4 separate regions of the Homo sapiens genome follow, and all the other regions are linked to region 1. Evidence: promoter capture Hi-C in 16 types of primary human blood cells and fetal thymus (Javierre and others, 2016). All regions are on one chromosome and are shown on one strand. The core of a region is centred on a gene start or on the middle of the fragment in contact, and the rest is flanking DNA. Distances in the headings are between cores, read along the strand shown. Region 1 holds the start of HPN (hepsin). Region 2 has its middle 3.8 kb from the start of FFAR2. Region 3 holds the start of FFAR3 (free fatty acid receptor 3). Region 4 overlaps CD22 (CD22 molecule).

The links. Contacts are between HindIII fragments. The CHiCAGO score rates a contact against its expected background, and 5 or more counts as called.
Region 2: a fragment that was not itself captured here is called in contact with the fragment with the promoter of HPN in region 1 in 3 of 17 cell types (total B cells, naive CD4 T cells and naive B cells); the score reaches 7.6 in total B cells.
Region 3: the fragment with the promoter of FFAR3 here is called in contact with the fragment with the promoter of HPN in region 1 in 13 of 17 cell types (naive B cells, naive CD8 T cells, non-activated CD4 T cells and 10 more); the score reaches 14.3 in naive B cells.
Region 4: a contact is called between a fragment that was not itself captured here and the fragment with the promoter of HPN in region 1, in 3 of 17 cell types (total CD8 T cells, naive CD8 T cells and naive CD4 T cells). The highest score is 6.5, in total CD8 T cells.

Annotation. Positions count from the first base shown.
Region 1 is chr19:35,040,471-35,045,534 of GRCh38, reverse strand. It overlaps HPN (hepsin), which reads right to left and starts at 3,814. Exons shown (of 13, transcript NM_001384133.1): 1 at 3,663-3,814; 2 at 3,013-3,082. The coding sequence starts at 3,028. RefSeq lists an enhancer at 4,343-5,064. The HindIII fragment of the contact is 15,827 bases long and covers 1-5,064 here.
Region 2 is chr19:35,441,928-35,446,991 of GRCh38, reverse strand. No RefSeq gene overlaps it. Among named protein-coding and RNA genes, the nearest start is that of FFAR2, 3.8 kb to the left of the region's middle. RefSeq lists enhancers at 699-778, 4,501-4,710. The HindIII fragment of the contact is 3,169 bases long and covers 1,080-4,248 here.
Region 3 is chr19:35,356,084-35,361,147 of GRCh38, reverse strand. FFAR3 (free fatty acid receptor 3) reads right to left here and starts at 2,688. Exons shown (of 2, transcript NM_005304.5): 1 at 2,499-2,688; 2 at 659-2,268. The coding sequence starts at 2,257. The coding sequence ends at 1,217. RefSeq lists an enhancer at 840-1,367. The HindIII fragment of the contact is 8,969 bases long and covers 1-5,064 here.
Region 4 is chr19:35,332,861-35,337,924 of GRCh38, reverse strand. CD22 (CD22 molecule) reads right to left here. Exons shown (of 14, transcript NM_001771.4): 3 at 5,001-5,064; 4 at 1,584-1,889; 5 at 1-170. Among named protein-coding and RNA genes, the nearest start is that of CD22, 6.2 kb to the right of the region's middle. RefSeq lists enhancers at 323-422, 463-612 and a silencer at 4,411-4,620. The HindIII fragment of the contact is 4,678 bases long and covers 573-5,064 here.

The sequences.
Region 1 (5,064 bases), core at 2,565-5,064:
CTGGATGCCTTGGGTCTTCTCATAGGTCAGTTCTTCCGCCTCCACCATTTGGCTGCAAAGACCCCCACGCGTAACACCTTTGGCTCTCTGGCTCTGAAAATCCACTCAACTGGTGGCTCCGTGTCTCGGGCCTCATCTTACATGACTGCAGCTTCCTGTATAAATGCTCTCCTCTTTGGACTTCTGGGACACCAGGCGCACCTGATTTTCCTTCCCGCCTCTGAGGCTGCTGTCTTCACCCACCCTCTACCTACTCCGTAAAATCCAGAGTTTGTAGGGCTGGCCGCAGCCTCCCCCTGCTCCTCCTTGCCCCTAAGTCTGTCTCACCCACCTCTGTGGACTCAGTTTCCCCTCTGTCCCCAGCCCTAGACCCTCTTCCAGGTCCCAGGTCAGGGCTCCTGCAGTCCTTTAAATACCTTTTAAATACCTTTCCCTGGGACCTCCTAGTCCCTTTGCCCCTACCAGGTCCCAGAATGTCTCCCCAATGTCTCCCCAAGTATATTCTTCCTCCCGGTCCTGTCTCAGAGGCCCTCACTCCTAGGACCATCCCCATCTGCATAACATTCCCCTCCCCCGACAGCCTGCCAATCCTCCTGAGTGACTCTCCTTCCCCCGTTTCCTTCTTTCTCTCCATCTGCACCTTGCTCCGGCCCCATCCAACCGCTGGGCTCAGTCTCCCTTCTAGCGCACCCTCCACACGGAGGCTTGGGGAACCTACTGAGACACCAAATCCAACCTGTCCCCTCTTTACCTATAGAACCCTCTGTGACTCCCTAGTACCCCCCAGACAGCTTAAGTCCCTCAGCCTGGCATTTCCAGCCCCACTAGGGTATAAGCATGGCTTTCAGAGATTTGGGAGTATGTTTCCCCCAATTCTCAGACAACCATGTGGGTCACTATCAGGTACCAGAGAGAGCTTCCAAAAAGCAACCCAAACAGTAGAACTTGTAAAATACAAGTTAGACAAGAGAAGCAGGGACTAACCACTGGCGCCACCTTGTGGAGAGACCTGGTACTGCAAGGAATTGGCCAGCTCTTCCCCAAAACAGTCCCACCCCTGCCTGGTCCAGCTTGCACACCTCTTCTCCCACCCAGCTCAACTTCCAGCTTCACCTCCAGAAATACCACAATTGGCTACGTGCACACCAGTGCTGTGTCACCTCCCAGCTTCCCAGAGAAGAGCAAGAGCCTTGCTCTTCCCTCTGCCTGGCATCCTTGGAATTGCAACTCCAGTATCACCTCCTCCAATTCCAAGTTTCCAGGCAGCACCAAGAAGCCAGCAGCAATAACAGTGACACCAACAACAGCAGCCGCTGCAGCCACAACGGCTCTCTGAATCACACACGGACGCACCGCCCTACCCTAACCCCGTCCAGTCCTGCACAGCATCCTTACTTAAATCCTTGCAGCTGTTCACGAGGAAGGCGCCATTGCCATCACCCCCAGTTTACAGATGAGAAAAGGAGGCCCAAAGTCCGGCAGCCACCAAACCCGGGTCACCCGGCAAGTAAGTGCAGAATCGGAACCCTTCAGCATCTGTGTCCAGGTTCGACCTCCACACCCCTAGCCCTGACAGCAGGACTCCCCTCCAAGACCAGCCCGGAGCTGCCAGGGAGGCACCAGAGCCCACTTTGTGTCTGTTTCTCTTTGTACCCAGGCCATCTCTGTCCATTCGGGCATTTTCTGCTTTTCTTCCCTGGCTCATTCACCCATGGGCCCAAGCCCTGGGGCTGTCCTTCCGGCAGCTCCAGGAAAGAGATTGTCCCCAAGGAGCTGGATTCTGTCATCCACCTGCTCGGCTAGGGTGCAATGCCTTCTCCTGAGTAACTGGGAGCCTGGGTTCCCTCTGGACTGCAGCTGATTGGTTTGGGGTCTGAATTGCCAGCTGTGCCGAGACCCGAGGAGGCCAGAGATCTGAACTAATCATTTCAGCCAACACGCTCAGTGCTTCCTGCCCATCCTGGCATTTCAGGCCTCGCCCCACGCTGTTGGACATGCACTGTCACCCTCTCCATTTCACAGATGAGAGAATGGAGGCCCAGGGAGAACACGCCGTCTGCCCAGGGCCACACAGCTAGAAAGTGCTACTGCCCAGGACTGAGCCCGGCTATCCTGGTTGCGGAAGAAGAGAGGGAGTCAGCCCCAGCTAGGGGAAGGCAGAAAGAACAGGACGCCCCTCCATGCGCCCCTCCAGCTGGGTCCCATGTGTGAGAGGTAGAAAGGAAGCCAGGCTAGCTGGGGGCTGCCCAGAGACTCCCAAGGGCCAGCAACTCCATGACGCAGTCTCTCTCTCTCATCCTTATGGTGGTTTCTCTGCCGTCTCTCCCCTCTCCATCCATCCAGGCCCAGTCCAAAGTCCTCCCTCTGCTCTTTTGCCCACAGAGCCAGGAGGTGGAGGAATGTCTGGGATCGGTGGGGGTCCTGGGTCTCTGGGACTCCGAGTTTGCCAACCTCTGTCATGACAGCTCTGCTTGATGGCATGCGTCTTATATGCAGAGCCCCAGACCAGTGCCTGGTGTGTGTCATGCACTCAGCAACCTCACAGAGGGAGGACTGGTATCCATGCTTGACCCAGAGGGAGACCAAAGCCCTAAGAATAATGTCACTTGCACCAGATCACACAGCAAAAAAGATGGCAAGAGCAAATTCAAATGCAAGCCTGTGTGTTTCACTCCAAATCTGTGTCCTTAACCATGACAGCTACAGCTTCCCCGCCTCAGCCCCAGCAGAGGACAAGTCCAGAGTTAGCTGAGAAATCACTGGGGGATGAGGGGAAACTGAGGCAGCACGCCAGGAAGGTCACATAGGGTAGAAGGGAGGCTGGTGGTGGCACAGCTGCACAGAAAATGTGGTTAATAGTTAATCAGGTGGAGGAGGACTAACAGGGGTGGGGATGCATCTGGGAGGGGTGCCCAGAGAGAGGGGGCTCCGAAGAGTAGAGGGTAGAGAAAAGAGCACAGAGGGCGGGGCGCCAGGCAGAGCCAAAGCTGGGGCTCAGGGAAGGGGACTCACCCTCCTTCTGCGCCATGTCACTGCCTCTTGTTAATGATTCCCTGGCTGACCTCCTGGGCCAGGGTGGGACCTGTGAGGAGATGGACGGGGAGGCAGGGCCTGGGGGAGCCCAGCCCAGCCCAGTCCTGGCGCCCCCAGTCCCAGGCGTCCATCCAGGCAGGCTGTAGGGACTGGGCCTTGGCCAGAGCACGCCGTGATCACGGACGCAGATTGGGCTGGGTTCAAGGATGGGGTCAGTGTCTGACCAGCAGCGGGGGGACGCCTGGATTTGCAGGGATGGGGACCCCCATGCCTGAGCCTGGTGGAGCAGGGGACTGAGGATCCCGGTTTGAGGGAGGAGACAGCTGAGGACCTGAAATCATAAGTCTTGGGAAAGGAGGAATTTGGGGGCCAGGACTCCCTAGTATGAGGGAGGAGGGGCCTGAGGGCTGGAACTCCTGGGTCTGGGGAGGAAAGGACTGGGGTCCAACGGCTGAGTCTGAAGGAAGAGCAGGACAGAACACCTAGGTGCTTGGGGGGACGTCATAGTGCCCCCTCTTCAGGTCCCCAGGAACCCCTCTATTAGGAGGTGGGCATTAGGCTGGGTGGGGGGATGAGGGAACCCCTGTCCTCAGGGCTGGAACTGTGAGTCTGGGGGCCCTTGTCCTTACCCTGGGGTCCAGCAGGTGGGGGCGGAGCCTCGAGGTAGTGCCGGGGTCGGGTCAGTCTCCAGGCCTGGGCAGGAGCATGGTGGCCCCGCAGCAGCGGGCGGCCTGGAGGCAGAGGCGGTGGCGTGGGGCCTGCTAGGCCAGGCTGCCTCACCTGAGGAGGAGGGGGCTGGGCGAGGGGCGGGTGAAGGGGCGGGGAGGGGCCGGACCATTCGATTGGCAGCACTGGAGGCCACCTGGCTGATGGGGCCGGGCTTGTGGGGGCTGGACCAGGCGGGCCCAGCTACGGGGCTTGCCTTGGACCTCCAGGGGGACCCAGGTGTGCCTGTCTGCGGGGATGTGGGAACAGGGACAGGCCTGGCCGGAGGCTGGGGGTTTAGGGAGAAAGTGCAGGCTGAAGGGTGGGGGTCTGACCAGAAGAGATCAGATGGAGGGCCCCAGCTGCCCTAAGCCCACTCCACCCTCACCCAGCGAACCCTTCCCCCCGCCCTTTCTGCGTCCTCCAGCCCCAGGTCCTGGCTGTGCCCGCCACTTGCTGCACCTCTGCCTAATTCCCTGCCCAATTCCTGGGCCCCAACCCCAGCCCCAGCCTCTCCCGCCTGCCCTGCTCATCCTGCCCCGGCCCCTCCCCCGCTGGCTTCCTACAAGTCACGGGGCTGGTTTGCTTTGGCAGCCTCCGCCCGGCCGCGGTGACCTCTGGAGCCAGAAAGTCCTAGCACTAGATAGGGGGGATGGGGGGCTTGGCCGGGAAAACACAGCGCTAAGGGCAGAGGCCCAGGCCAAGTGGCCGGAAGCGTCCGCAGGCAGATAACACACTGTCCCGCCAGCAGCCAGGCGCGGCCCACGTCAGACCCAGGGCCAGGTAAACACCAGACGTGCAGGGTCACCGCCAGACACCTGCCCGTGCTCAACCACACGCCGGACACAGTCGGCCTCGGCTGCTTGCCCCAGATAGGCCACCCGCACAACCGGCCCCACCCGCTTACCCACACGTGCCCGCTGTGCCCAGCCAAACCCACCTCCACCGCACCCATTTCCTCCACTCAGCCCAGGGCCCCTCATTGGGACACGCTGGTTTAGCCTGGCTTCCTCTGCCTTTCCATCCATACCCGTCTCTCCTTCCCTCTCCTTCTCCCCAGCGCCCACCTCTCCAGAGACTCACACTGCTGGGCACACCACACACCCCATGCCACCCCTGCACCCCAGCATCAGCCTCGATTCTCTTCCCTCCACGGCACCCCCTCCCTTCCTGGCTCCGTTCCACTCTCCCTCACCCCTGAGCCCATGGCTCCCCCAACCCCGACACAGATCAGGCACTAAGTGGCTTCACCTGTGGGCCCTCAGGTAGGGTCCCTGGAAAGCGGGCTCGAAGATTCGGGGACGGGAATGGGGGGAAGGTGACGGG
Region 2 (5,064 bases), core at 1,415-3,914, 400 kb before region 1:
AGTCTCTGTTCTGCCATCTGTGGCCTGATTCCTGCTCACAGAATCCCCATTCTTTCCCTAGGACATACCTACTTCCTATTGTTTGCCATTCATTCAGTCATTCAGTCAGTCAGTCATTTATTCTTTTTGTGGTCTGTAACCCCAGGGTCTAGACATTTTGATATTTAGCTTTTCTTTCTCGTCCACTCTACTCTCCTCTGAAGGCGTTCTAGTTCTTTATTTCCTTCCCCCAGCACACGTCGCTTCTCAGATCAACAGGAGAACTAAGAAAGAGACCATTCTCTCTTGTTGCCACCAAATTTATTTGTGTCATTTCGCTTTTATGATTTCCTATAAACATGCACGAGGATCTGGATTTAATTGCAGAATCCAGGAAACTCATTGGAAAACAAGTGTTGAGGAGTGGGACTGCCTCTCTGTCTCTGCACGTTCTTCTCCCCCCACCTCCTGCCTTTCGCCGTCACTGTCGTGAGTCCCCCTGTGGAAGACGCCCCAACGAAACCCCCTCTCTGGGTTCACAGCAGTTATGAATGTTCACCGCAGTTATGAAGGGAGCATCACCAAGGAGGCTTTCAGTCTCACAGTTCATGATGTCCACCTACGTCACAGGAAAAGGAAACCCAACCTCTCAGACCGAGTTCAAGGGGGTAAACTTTCACAAGAGCAATATCCTTCACAGTTCCTTCCAAGTTCAGTTTTCTCTCATCGTCTTTATAATGCAGCCTGTCATCACAGGAAGTTGGACCCTTATCTAAAGTTCTGTGTAATCACTTCCACATTCTTAATTCTCACTCGCCCCTCAGTCCACCCTAATCTGGGTTCTGTGCCTATTTTCCATGGGATTTTCTCTTCCCGATGTTAGCAGTGACCTCCATGTTCCTAAATTCAGTGGACTTACGCTTTTCTTATTTTATTAGCATTCAACACAATTTCCACGCCCTTCTGGAAACATCCTCTTTTCACAAATTCTGATACGTTACGCTGCTAGCTTCCCTCTCTTTCCTTTGGTCACTTCTCGTACCCCTTTGCTAGCTCACCATTCCCCTACTCATCCCCGAAATGGTGACTTCCTTCAAGCTTGGCTCCAGGTTCTTTCCTGTTCTCGCCTGTGCTCTCCTTCTAGTCGACTGCAACTGTTTCCGTAGTTCCAGTTACCACCTTCATGACACCCCTGGTTTGAATCTTCACCCTAGGTTTCTGTGAGCTTCACATGTACACGCTCAACTGCCTAGTTGACACTGCCATTGGGTGTCTCACAGGTGTCCCAAATCAACCAAATCAAATGTGTCCAGACCTGGCCTCAGATCTTCCTTCTTCCACCCTTCCCTGTCTTGGGGCGTAAGATCTCTTCCCATCACATCTCCTGCACCATTATCTTAGAGTCAGTCTTTTTTTTTTTTCTTTTTAATTTCGAGACTGAATCTCACTCTGTCGCCCAGGCTGGAGTGCAGTGGCACATAGTCTCGGCTCACTGCCACCTCTGCCTCCCAGATTCAAGCAATTCTCATGCCTCAGCCTCCCGAGTAGCTGGGATTACAGGCATGTGCCACCACACTCGGCTAATTTTTGTATTTTTAGTAGAAACGGGGTTTCACCATGTTGGTCAGGCTGGTCTCGAACTCCTGACCTCAAGTGATTCGCCCGCCTTGGCCTCCCAAAGTGCTGGGATTATAGGCGTGAGCCACTGAGCCTGACTAGAGTCAGTCTTAAAGTGAATCTCAATATTATCTTCTTCCTTATCCCTAGAATGCAGTCTGATGTACTCCCCAAATACTTATGGATTCCAAATATGAATCCATCCATCCGTCTCCATCTCCATCATCCCATCTCAGTGCCATCATCCCTACCAGGATTTCAGCAGGGCCCTGACTCACTTCCTCTCATCCATCTGCTTCCCTGGCAGTCAGTTCTCCATACTGTATTAGTGGAATCATTTTAAAAATGTCAATCCAATTATACGACCTTCTTGTCCTTTCAGAGACTTCTCACTGCTTTTAGGAGAAATATCAACATCCTTAAAAAGGCCTGCCTAGCATGGCCCTTGCCAGCTTCCACTCACATCACTCTTCTCTCTCTTTGCTGTCTGGGCAGGGCCATTTTCCACTTCTGTGAATGTGTCATGTTTTCCATCTGCCATGGGGAGCTTGAACCAGCCCCTGCCTGGTATGTCTTTATTTCTTGTTACCCATTCCAACTTTCACAGTTAATTTGTAGCTTTCTTTCAGATAACCATTTACTTCCTTAAGAAATCCCTGTCTGGCTGGGCACAGTGGTTCACACCTGTAATCCCAGCACTTTGGGAGGCCGAGGCAGGTGGATTACCTGAGGTAAGGAGTTCGAGACCAGCCTGGCCAACATGGCGAAATCCCGTCTCTACTAAATATACAAAAATTAGCCGGGATAGTGGCGCACGCCTGTAATCCCAGCTAGTCAGGAGGCTGAAGCAGGAGAATCACTTGAACCCAGGAGGCGGAGGTTGCAGTGAGCCAAGATTGCGCCACTGCATTCCAGCCTGGGCGACAGAGCAAGACTCTGTCTCAAAAAAAAAAAAAAAAAAAAAAAAGGCCCTGACCTCCTAGATTTCGATTCCCCTCTTACAGGTTAAGCATCTTTTCTATTGCTGAATAGTATTCTGTTTTAAGGATATTTCCTATTTTATTTATCCATTCATCTGTTGATGGATATTTGGTTGGTTTGGGTTTTTTTTAAAAAGTTTTTGTCTAGTATGAATACAGCTGTTAAGAACATTCTTGTGTGGAAATGTTTTCAGTGCTGTTGGGCAAATACCTGGCAGTGTATTGGCCAGGTGGTATGGTAAAACGTTTTATTAACTTTTTAAGAAACTACCAGTTTTCCAAAGTAGCTGTGCCATGTTGCATTCCCACCAGCAGCCTACGAGCATTTCAGTTGCTCCACATCCTCACCAACACTTGACAATTGTTAGTTTTTAATTGTGGGCATTCTAATAAGTATGCCATGGTATTTTTGTGTGTGTGTGTGAGACAGAGTCTCGATCTGTCGCCCAGGCTGGAGTGCAGTGGCGCCATCTCCACTCACTGCAAACTTCACCTCCTGGGTTCAAGCCATTCTCGTGCCTCAGCCCCCTGAGTAGCTGGGATTACAGGCACGTGCCACCACACCTGGCTAATTTTTGTATTTTTAATACAGATGGGGTTTTGCCATGTTGGCCAGACTGGTCTTGAACTCCTGACCTCAGGTGATCTGCCCGCCTCAGCTGCCCAAAGTGCTGGGATTACAGGCGTGGACCACCGTACCCGGCCTTTGTTGTGGTCTTAATTTATACTTTCTTGATGATTATTGGTGTTAAGCATTTTTTCAAGTACTTATGAGCCATTTGTATATCTTCTTTCGTGGAATGTCTGTTTAAATATTTTGCTCATTTAAAAAATTTTAGGCTGGGCATGGTGGCTCACACCTGTAATCCTAGCATTTTTGGAGGCTGAAGTGGGTGGATTGCTTGAGGTCAGGAGTTTCAGACCAGCCTGGCCAACATAGTGAAACCTCATCTCTACTAAAAATACAAAATTTAGCTGGGCGTGGTGGCGGGCGCCTGTAATCCCAGCTACTAGGGAGGCTGAGGCAGGAGGATCGCTTGAACCCAGGAGGCAGAGGTTGCAGTGAGCCAAGATCATACTACTGCACTCCAGCCTGGGCAACAGAGTGAAACTCTGTCTCAAAAAAAAAAAAAAAAAAAAGAAAAATTGGATTATTTTCATATAGTTGAGTTCTGAGAGTTCTTTATTATATTCTTGGTACTAGTCATTTGTCAGATGTATATATTACCAATATTTTCTGCCATTCTGTGACTTTTCTCTTCTTTTAATTTTTTTTTTTTTTGAGACAGAGTTTCACTTTGTTGCCCAGGCTGGAGTGCAGTGGCTCCATCACAGCTCATTGCAGCCTTGACCTCCCAGGCTCAGGTGACCTTTCCGCCTCAGCCCTCCAAGTAGCTGGGACTGCAGGCACCTGCCACCATGCCTGACTAATTTTTCTATTTTTTGTACTGATGAGGTTTTGCCATTTTGTCCAAGCTGGCATCGACCTCCTGAGCTCAAGCAGTCTGCCCACCTCGGCCTCCCAAAGTGCTGGGATTACAGGCATGAGCCACTGTGCCTGGTCTTCATTTTCTTAATTGTCTCTTGAAAAGCAAAAAAGTGTTACATTTTGACAAGGTCTAATTTATCTGGTTTTTCTTCTATGGTTTGTGCTTTTATGTCCTAAGAAGCTTTTACCTCCTTATCCAATTATTCCAGATTTTCCTTTCCCTGTTGAATTGCCGCGGCACCTGTACTAAAAACCCATTGGTTGTATGTGTGTGTGGTACTATTTCTGGACGCTCTATTCTTCTGAGAGACTCTGTGTCTTGCCTTTCATCATTTGCACACGGTATTTTTAAAATTTATTTATTTTTATTATTTTTTAAAATTTTTATTTTTAGATGGAGTCTTGCTCTGTCTCCCAGGCTACAGTGTTGTGGCGTGATCTCAGCTCACTGAACCCTCCTCCTCCTGGGTTCCAGCAATTCTTCTGTCTCAGCCTCCTGAGTAGCTGGGATTACAGATGCTTGCCACCACCCCCGGCTAATTTTTGTATTTGTATTAGAGACAGGGTTTCGCCATGTTGGCCAGGCAAGTCTTCAACTCCTGACCTCAAGTGATCCACGTGCCCCGGCCTCCCGAAGTGCTGGGATTACAGGCACGAACCACTGTGCCCGGCCTGCACACAGTCTTGATTACTGTGGTTTCATAATAAGTCTTGAAATAGAGTAAGTCCTCCAACTTCCTTCTTCTTTTCTAAATTTGCTGTGGCTATTCTGGGTCATTTGCATGTTCATATAAATATTAAAATCAATTTCTACAGAAAAGCCTGCTGGAATTTTGAATGGGCTCACACTGAATCCATAGATCAATTTGGGATCATTGACACTGGACATCTCTCTCCATTTATTTAGGTCTTTAATTCCTCTCAGCAATGCTTTCTAGTTGTCAGCATAGAGGTTTTGCATGATTCTAAATATTTTGGAGGCAGCTGTAAATTTAATTT
Region 3 (5,064 bases), core at 1,439-3,938, 320 kb before region 1:
TGAATGGCCATATTTTGATGAATAGAGCTCTGAGGAACATCTCTCTGACTTTGCAGAAACCTGAAGTCCATTGTGCTGACTAATTATCTTTTTTTCTTTTTTTCCAAGAGGGCTTTTTTACTGGGAAAAGGTTGAACCCACACAAATAGTCAATACGCTTTGCATTTAGTTCTGTTTCTTATCATGGCCTGTTTATATTTGTCCTGCTCAGACAGACTTATCTGACTTGGGACATTTGACTGGGCCAGGTGACCACAGGTGACACACAGATGGAGAACAGCAGAGTGGCTTAGGGGCATGGGTGTCAGAGTCAACTGACACCAGCTTCTGGTCCCACTTCAATCGCCCACCAGCTATGGGATCTCAGGTAGGAGGTGTCACCTCTCTGGGCCACTCCTTCATCTGAAACTGGGGATAATGCTGGTACCTCTCACAGGGCTATTGAGAGATAGAAGGAGATGATGTGTCAGGCCAAGTCCTTTAGACAGGGCAGCTGTTATTTTCATCCCTGCAAGCCAGATCCTCTCCCAGCATCCAGGCATCCTGGTGTTTGGCCCTTTTCCTCCAGAGTCTGGTGTTTTCTCCTTCCATCCACCAGTCCCACCCGGCCCAAGCACACCACCAGAACAAAACAGGAGAAGAAGGAAACACTGTTCTCTTTTGCTTGCTTCCACATTTATTTGGGTAATTTTTCTTCTGTCATTGTTCATAAATGTCTCTGATGATCCACATTTATTGAGCAATGGGAACTTTCTGGAAAAGGCGCTGTGGGAGCAGAATGCGGCCTCATCCCTGGAGCCCTGTCTCCCCCGCTCCTGACTCGCTGGCTGGGAGCAGCTCTGAGGATGGGGTTCTCCCCTCTCCTGCCCCTGCCACTCACTGGGCAGCCCCCTCAGACCCTGGGCACTGCTCTTAGCTCCTCTGCCACCCTCAAGAAAACACAGGAGCTGCCTGCTGCTATGAGGACCTCATTGTTCTCCAGAGCAGCCTCTCACCCTGACCCCTTCCCAGAGCCCAATCCATAGTGTGTGGGTGGATGGGGATGGAGGTGAGATCGAGAGCTGGGCTTTAGCGCGCATACCCTTAGGGAGGCTAGATGTCTACTCTGCCCCCAAGCCCCATCGGGCCCCAGCTCGCCACTCCAAGTCCCTCCTGGCGTGAGCGAGGAAGCGCCCTGAGGATGACATGCCAGCTACACCCTCCTCCCCCGGAGGACCTAGCTTTCAGCACAGGCCACCTGGCCACCAGTTCCACAGCCCTGTGAGTGTTCACTGGTCTTTCTTTCAGCTGGTCGGTCCGCTCTCTGCTCCTCCCCTCCCTTCTGCTCCTTCAGCTCCATGCTGCTCTCCTGCTGCCACTGGCCCCAGAGCCCACACAACCTCCTCAGCAGCTCATGAAAGTCGGCTTGGAACCCGGAGGAGGAGAAGTAGTAGACAAAGGGGTCGACACAGGAGTTCAGGGTGCTGAGAAGCGTCACGTAGATCCTCCACGCCGGGCTTTCACCGCAGATATAGCCCACGACATGGGACACGTTGTAGGGCCCAAAGCAGACAAGGAAGTTGAGCAGCGTGGCCGCCAACAGCCCCGCCACCCTCCTCTGCCGGCGGTGGCTGCCCCCTCTGCCGAGGATCCACACCAGGCGGCTGTAGCAGTAGCTGGTGATGATCAGCGGGACCACAAAGAGGACCACAGCCATCTCCAGCCGCACGGGCAGGAGGATGGCTAGCTGGTCCTTCCGGAACTCCAGGTAGCAGGTCCCATTGGTGCCCTGGCTGTGGGAGATGTCCCCTGAGAATTCTATGACGTAGACCACGCTGCAGTGAGCAGAGGCCAACAGCCAGCAGGCCACACTCACCAGACCTGCCTGCCCCAGCCTCGGCCGGGTCTTGTACCACAGTGGGTGGGCCACACTCAGGAAGCGTTCAATGCTCACAGCTGCCAGGAAGAGGGCGGTGAGATAGATGGTGGTGAAGAAGATGAATCCAGAGAGTGGGCAGAGGATGAAGGGCAGGGGCCAGTGCATGCCATTGGCTGCCTCCACCATGCGGAAAGGCAGGAACAGCAGCAGGAGCAGGTCCGAGGCGGTCAGGTTGAGCAGGAGCACGTCCACGGCCACCGGGCGGCGCTGCAGCTTGCCCACGAAGACCACCAGGGCCAGCAGGTTGAGGGGGAGCCCCACCAGGAAAGTGAGAAGGTACACCGAGAAGACGAACCAGTGATTGCCGGAGAAGTAGGACTGGTCGGGGCCTGTATCCATGGTGGTGGCCACTGGTGAGAGAGAGTAACATGGAGTTGGTAGTGGGGGCCCTAACGGCCTCTGGCCAGCAGCATCTCCCCTAAAAGGGCACGAGGTCACTACGCCCACCCCTCTTGTCTCTGGGTGCCTTCCAGGCGGGGTCAGCCTGCCTGTCTTCCTGAGCATGCCCTGTCCCCTGTCCCTTCCCCAGCAGAGAAGCACCAAGGTGCTCCTCCACCCAGCCCCTCGGGCCCAGGCTCACCTGCTTCTTTGAGACCCCAAATGCTCTGCCGCACAGCACCTTGCTGTCTCTCCAGACCTAGTGCAGTTGGCTATTTATCCGGCAGAACTGATAAAGACCTGGCCGTGCCCATGACGTCACTCACTGTTGAGCAGTGGCACATAGATGCCTTGAGCTCCGTTGCCAGGGCTGGTCAGCATGCTAAAAGGGGAACAAATTCCACAACTGCGTGCCTCCCTCCTCATGCAGTCTCAGCTGGGATGCTCTAAGCAGGCCCCAGCCGACGTCTTCCTCTCCCCTTCTTCACTTGAATTTTGTCTGCTTCTCTAGAATGGCATTTATCCAATTTGCCTTGTAAGGGCAGGAAGTGTGATGCAATGACAGAGAGCGAGCTCCGTGAGGTCTGTTTCTTCCTGACTTTGTGATTTGGGGGAAATGACTTAAATTCTCCATGTTTCTGCTTTCTCCCCTGCAGAACAGAGCTCATCATAATACCCATCTCATAGATCAACGCATTAACACATGCAAATTAAAACAATATGTAGGTCGATTAAAAGATTACTAATACATGTTGAGTGGTTTGACGGAAGCCTGGCGTGTGGTCGTGAGCAGGCAGCGGATGCCAGCTGCTATTTTCCCTGTCACTGGTGCAGGATTATCTCTGGGGTGACAATGTAATAATAATAACAATAATAATGGTGGTGGCGATGATGACAGCAGCTGCCTTTTCATGGGCACATAATCCATAGCAGACACTGCTTCTAGGGCAACGCTTTTATGTCATAAAATCCTTGTCCTTCACCGTAGGGAAGTGACTTGCTCCAGGTGATACAGCTTGTGAAATGTCACCACTAGGGTTCAAACCCAAGTGCTGTCCAGTTTCACAGGTGATCTATTAGTTCATTCAAACAATCACAGGGCACAATGAGATATGATTTCACATCCACTAGAATGGCCACAAGCAAAAAGTCAGACAATGCCTATGGTCGGCGAGAATGTAGAGAGATAGGGGCCTCATTCACTGCTGGTGAGAATAATGGGAGGTGGTGTCCCTGCTTTGGAAAGCAGGTGGCAGTTGCTTAAAAAGTTAAACATAAATTCACCATGCGATCCAACAATTCCACCGTAGGTATTTACTTAAGAGAAGTGGAAACTCAGGTCTACTTAAAGACTCAGTCCTAAATGTTCACAGCAGTGTTGGTCATAGTCACCAACAGTGGAAATGTTACCTGGCAGCCCATCAGCTGGTGAGTGAATAAAAAAGTGGCACATCCATATACTGGAATTCTATTTGGCAAAGAAAAGGAATGAGCTACCCATACACACTACAGCCTTATGTTGAGTGAAACAAGCCAGACGTAAAAGACCATGTACATATATTGTCAGATTTCATTTATTTATATGATATGTCCAGAATAGGCAAAGTTATAGAGTCAGAAAGTAGACTCGTGGTTGTCTGGGGGATGGAGGTAGAAATGAAGATTAAGTTGTTTTTTTTTTTTTTTTTTTTTTTTTGAGACAGGGTCTTGTTGTCGCCCAGGCTGGAGTGCAATGGTGCAATCTTGGCTCACTGCAAACTCTGCCTCCCGGGTTCAAGAAATTCTCATGCCTCAGCTTCCTAAGTAGCTAGGATTACAGGTGCCCGCCACCACGCCTGGCTAATTTTTGTATGTTTAGTAGAGATGAGGTTTCGCCATGTTGGCCAGGCTGGTCTCGAACTACTGACCTCAGGTGATCCGTCCACCCCAGCCTCCCAAAATGCTGAGATTATAGGCGTGAGCCACCCCGCCTGGCCCAAGATTAAGTTTAAATGAACATGAAGTAAAATCCTTTACTAGGGTCATGAAAATGTTCTAAAACTAGCTGATGGTAATGGACTCACACCTCAGTAAATTTACTAAAAATCATTGAATTGTACACTTAACATTGGTGAATTTGATGATATGTACATAATATCTCAATTAAGCTGTTAAAAGTGCAGCAGTAGGCTGGGTACGGTGGCTCAGGTCCGTAATTTTAGCACTTTGGCAGGCTGAGGTGGGAGGATTGCTTGAGCACAGGTTGTTTGAGACTAGCCTGGGCAACATGAGGAGACCCTATGTCCACAGGGGAAAAAAAAAAAAAAAAGAGAGAAAGAAAAAAGAAATTAGCTGGGTTTAGTGGCATGTGCCTCTGGTCCCAGCTACTTGGGAAGCTGAAATGGAAGAATCGCTTGAGCCCAGGAATTCAAGGCTGCAGTGAGCCATGACTGTGTCACTGCACTCCATCCTGAGCAACAGAGTGAGACTGTGTCTAAAAAAAAAAAAAAAAAAAAAAAACAACACGCAGTTGTGAACAAAAAGTTTTTGCTGTCATGCTGTTTACATTACATTTGGTGGTGAGGGCTTGGGGGATGGAGTAGGGGAAGGATCATGAAGACGTGGATACTGAAGAGGCAAAGAGCCACTGGAGGGAACATTGGGGCAGGGGAGTCACGGGTGCACAGACTTGGCCTGCTGGGGGAGCTGATAGGAGGTTTGGGTCTCACAGGAGTGAGAGGCGCCTGGGGTGGATCACACTGAGTCTCCTGGGCCCCAGGGAGGCACTG
Region 4 (5,064 bases), core at 1,662-4,161, 290 kb before region 1:
CAGGTTTAGCGTGAATGTATTCTGCTTCTTCAGCGAGGTCCCATCCTTGAGCCAGGATACCGTCGTGTACTCCGGGTTGCTGCTGCTGACCTCGCAGGTCATGGTCACAGAGTCCCCCTCCCTCACTATGGCATCACTGGGAGTGACCTTGATCTCCAACTTCGGGGTGTCTGGAGGAGCAGAGGGGCAGTCGGGGAGGGGGCGGGGAATCCTCAGAGGGTGGAGGGTGTGGAAAGTGCTTTTATTCTGACAAAGCCATGGCCTGCCAGTCCCTTCACCCAGGTGATGGTCACAGCCTCCTAACTCGGCTCTCAGCTTCCCCCTCCCACTTCCTCTACTTCTTGGTCTCCACCAGCAGCACGCAGGGTTCCTAACACCATCTACCAGACCTCGCCAATCCTGCTGGAAACCACGAGCGGGTTCTGTGCTTTGCATAGAATCCCAAACCCTCACCTCAGCCCTCGGGATCCAGAGTCCTGCTCCATCTCCTGCCTCCTGTCCTACCATGTGGCCCTCAGAGGCGGTGAACTTCAGCCTCTGAGGTCCTCCCACCCAGCTGCTGCCTCAAAGCTTTGAACCTGCCCTTCTCTTTCCCTGAAATCCTCCTCTCCCAAATATGTGCCGGCCTCAGCCACTCCCTCCGTTCCAGTCAGCTTAAGTGCTCACCTTCTTTTTTTTTCTTTTTTTGAGATGGAGTCTCACTCGTCACCCAGGTTGGAGTGCAGTGGTGCGATCTCAGCTCACTGCAAGCTCCGCCTCCTGGGTTCATGTCATTCTCCTGCCTTGGCCTCCCAAGTAGCTGGGACTACAGGCGCCTGCCATCATGCCTGGCTAATTTTTTGTATTTTTACTAGAGATGGGGTTTCACCATGTTAGCCAGGATGGTCTCGATCTCCTGACCTTGTGATCCCCCCGCCTCGGCCTTCCAAAGTGCTAGGATTACAGGCGTGAGCCACCGCACCCGGCCTAAGTGCTCACCTTCTTAGAGAGGTCTCTCTCCATCACTCCCCTCTCTCGGCCTTATTTTTTTCCTAACACACATATCACTACCTACAATAGTGTTGTATATTTCTTTGTTAACATTGCTTTGTTCCAGATTCTAATGTCTTGGCTCATGCTCTGTATTTCTTTGGTAATCCATTTGTTGTCTGTCTCTTTCACTGCAGCGCTGGCTCCGCGTGGGGCAAGAGTTTTGCTCACTGCTGCACCCTGCCCACCGCCCCATGCCCCCCATTGGCAGCCGTAATAAGGCCTGGTACCTAGTAGGTTCATGATACGTATTTATTGAATGAATGAGGCACAAGATAATGATGCGAAAAAAATCCCCACCAAGAGGGGAACAAAAAGACCTAACCAGATAATCCCCAATTCATGTCATGGCTTGAGGATGGACCATTTTATTCTGTTAGGCTAGAGCAAATCTTTTTCCCGAAACACCAGGGCTGACAAGGCGGCGTGACCAGGGCTGGAGGATGCCGCCGTCTGTGCAGGCTTCCCCCTGCCCTGGGTGCATGCCCCCTGCGGGGCTGGGGAGAAGGTGACACAGACCTTGCCCTTCCCACAGGCATGCCGGGGAGACTCACGCTTCACGTTCAGCTGCACCGTGTCATTGGAGAGGAACTTCCCATCTGCATCCTGAAGCTGGCAGGTCACAATCTTCCCATGGTGACTCCACTGTGGGGAGAACTTGAGCTCGCTCCGGGTGAAGACAGACTTGATGGTCAAGGAGGTCGAGGTGACAGCAGCCTGCCTCATTGGAACCCCCTCTAGGAGCCACTGCAATTGGATCGGATACCCATAGCAGGAGAAATTCAGCAAGCAGGTCAGAGTGACTTCCTGGGACTCTTGAATTTCTGGAGGGAGCTGGATATGAGGTGGAAAAGGCCTTTCTGCAAAAGAACAGAGCCCGTGCAGGAGCCTGGGGGACTGAGGACGTGAGCGTACACCTGGCTTTAGATGTCCTGTCCCAAATCACCCCTCAGGAACCCCTTGCCACTTCATTCCACCTCTCTCCAGTCCTGCTTTGTTTTTTTGTTGTTATTGTTGTTGTTGTTGTGTTGTTGTTTTTTTGAGATGGAGTTTCCCTCTGTCACCCAGGCTGGAGTGCAGTGGCGCGATCTTGGCTCGCTGTAACCTCTACCTCCCCAGTTCAAGTGATCCTCCTGCCTCAGCCTCCCGAGTAGCTGGGATTACAGGTGCCCACCACCACACCCAGCTAATTTTTCTGTATTTCTAGTAGAGACAGGGTTTCGCCATGTTGGCCAGGCTGGTCTTGAACTCCTGACCTCAAGTGATCCTCCCGCCTTGGCCTCCCAAAGTGCTGGGATTACAGGTGTAAGCCACCACACCCGGCCTCTTTTTTTCTTTAGAGACAGGGTCTTGCTTTGTCACCCAGGCTGGAGTGCAGTGGCGCAATCCTAGCTCACTGTAGCCTCAACCTCCTAGGCTCAAGCAATCCTCTCACCTCAGCCCCCTGAGTAACTGGGACTACAGGCATGTGCCACCACACCTAGCTAGTTTTTTAAACATTTTGTAGAGACAGGGTCTTGCCATGTTACCCAGGCTGGTCTCAAACTCCTGGGCTCAAACGATCCTCCGATCTCAGCCTCCCAAAGTGCTGGGGTTACAGGCGGGAACCACTGCACCCAACGCAGTCCTGCTTTTCTCCACTTTGAATCACTTTTGCTCACCCGAAATCCCCTCTGAAAGGCCTTGACCACACTAAGCCTCCTTGGGAACTGTGATCTACTTTTCTTTCATGCTCATTGCCGGATGTCTGCTTTCTGAATGATTGCAAAGTTCTATTCCCACCACCTCACCACCTCTTTTTTTTTTTTTTTTTTTTTTGAGACAGAGTCTCGCTCTGTCGCCCGGACTGGAGTGTAGTGGCGTGATCTCAGCTCACTGCAAGCTCCACCTTCCGGGTTCACGCCATTCTCCTGCCTCAGCCTCCTGAGTAGCTGGGACTACAGGCGCCTGCCACCACGCCTGGCTAACTTTTTGCATTTTTAGTAGAGACAGGGTTTCACTGTGTTAGTCAGGATGGTCTCGATCTCCTGACCTTGTGATCCGCCTGCCTCGGCCTCCCAAAGTTCTGGGATTACAGGCGTGAGCCACCGTGCCCGGCCTATTCCCACCACCTCTAAGTGAATTTTATCAGTTTAGTTCACGGACTTTTCAGCTTTGACAAACTTGTGTTACTTTCATGGCTTCCTTCAGTATTGCAGCCATCCACGCACCGCATTCCTTTAGTGGAGTGGGTCTGTGTGCACCCAGCCTCAGCTCTCCCCAAGGCTGGACCACCTCCTTCAGACAGCGGGGTCTGAAGTTGCATTGCTCACCCCAAATTTAAGGCTGCTCAGAACTGCCCATCCGGGAAACGGTGTGGAACGGAGTGACCACACTCCCTGTGGCAGGGGCCCCCCACACCTGTGTTTGATGGGTCAAAGCCACCCCTACATGTGCAGTGCTATAACTGAACCTATGTTATAAAAATTATAAGATGTTCGTTTTACTTCTTTTCTTTTCTCTTTGTCCTTTCCTTCCTCCATGCATGATTAGTTACATTTGGTCATTTCAGTAGCAGGTAACCATTAATTCACTCATAATTGTTTAACTTACATCCTGACTCCCTGGCAGCTGCCTGCAAGATAAATGAACTTGTCTCTCTTTCAAAGAACAATGATCCTTAGGTCACACAGACCTCCTTGATGACATCCAGAAATTTGATGAGCCGAGGGGCACAACAGCTTTGACGATCGGGAGGTCACCTCCTGCACACCTACTTTACTCATAAAAGCCCCCACTAACGCTCAAAGTCAGGTCAGATTTGAGAGTTTCTCTCTTCTGTCCCCTTGCTTTGGCTAAATTAAATAATCCTATCTCAGCTTCTAAGCACTGAGGTGTCAGTGTTTGGCTGACTACGCATCGGGAGCTCAAACCTGGCCTTTGGGGTTCAACAACAGTGTCATCTGACCTTGAAGAGCTCATGAGAACTTGCCATGAACATTAACATGCTGGGAGATTTCACTGGAAAATCTAGATTTCCATCGTCTCTTGAAAAATCAGAAGATCAGGCCGGGTGCGGTGACTCATGCCTGTAATCCTAATGCTTTGAGAGGTTGAAGCAGGAGGATTGCTTGAGGCCAGGAGTTCAAGACCAGCCTGGCAACATAGCAAGACCCATTTCTACAACAAATTAAAAAGTTAGCTGGGCATGGTGGCATGCACCTGTGATCCTAGCTACTTTGGAGGTGGGAGGATTGCTTGAACCCGGGAGATCAAGGCTGCAGTGAGCTGAGATCGCGCCACTGCACTCCAGCCTGGGTGATGACAGTGCGAGACCCTGTCTCATAAAAAGGGAAAGGAAGGGGAAGGGGAAAAGAAGAGGAAAAAAAGTAAAACAAACATTTTATGATTTTTATAACACAGGCTCAGTTATGGCACTGCACATGTAGGGGTGGATTTGACCCATCAAACACAGGTCTGGGGCCTCTGCCCTAGGGAGTGTGGTTACTCCGTTCCACACCCAGTTTCCTCTATAGGGAGCTCTGAGCAGCCCTAAGTTTGGGGTGAGCGATGCAGCTTCAGACCCCAATGTCTGAAGGGGGCGGTCCAGCCTGGGGGAGAGCTGAGGCTGGTTACATGCAGACCCACCCCACTAAAGGAATGCGGTGCTTGGATGGTTCCAGTACTAAGGCCAAACACGAGTTTGTCACAAAAGCTGAAAAATACATGGTGAGAAAGAAAGAGGGAAAGATCAGGAGATCCGATAACTTTGGAATCCAGGTCCCAGAGGGGCAGGAACTGAGGGTCAGATGGGACATCCGAGGTCCCGCAGCTCTGTCTAGTGCTGCTGCATCGCCATCGTCATCCGCTGGCGTCCCCTGCCTGAGCTCTGCAGGAAGCTCGGTTTGTGAGCTCTGTGCCAGGAGTCAGGTATTTCCTGCCTCCCACTCACCCCTGCCCAGAGCAGAGGACCCGCTCCCCGAAGGCCTTACCAGAGACATTGAGGTGTATTCGTTCCATCCATTTCTCAGTCTTGGACTCCATCCTCAGCCCCAG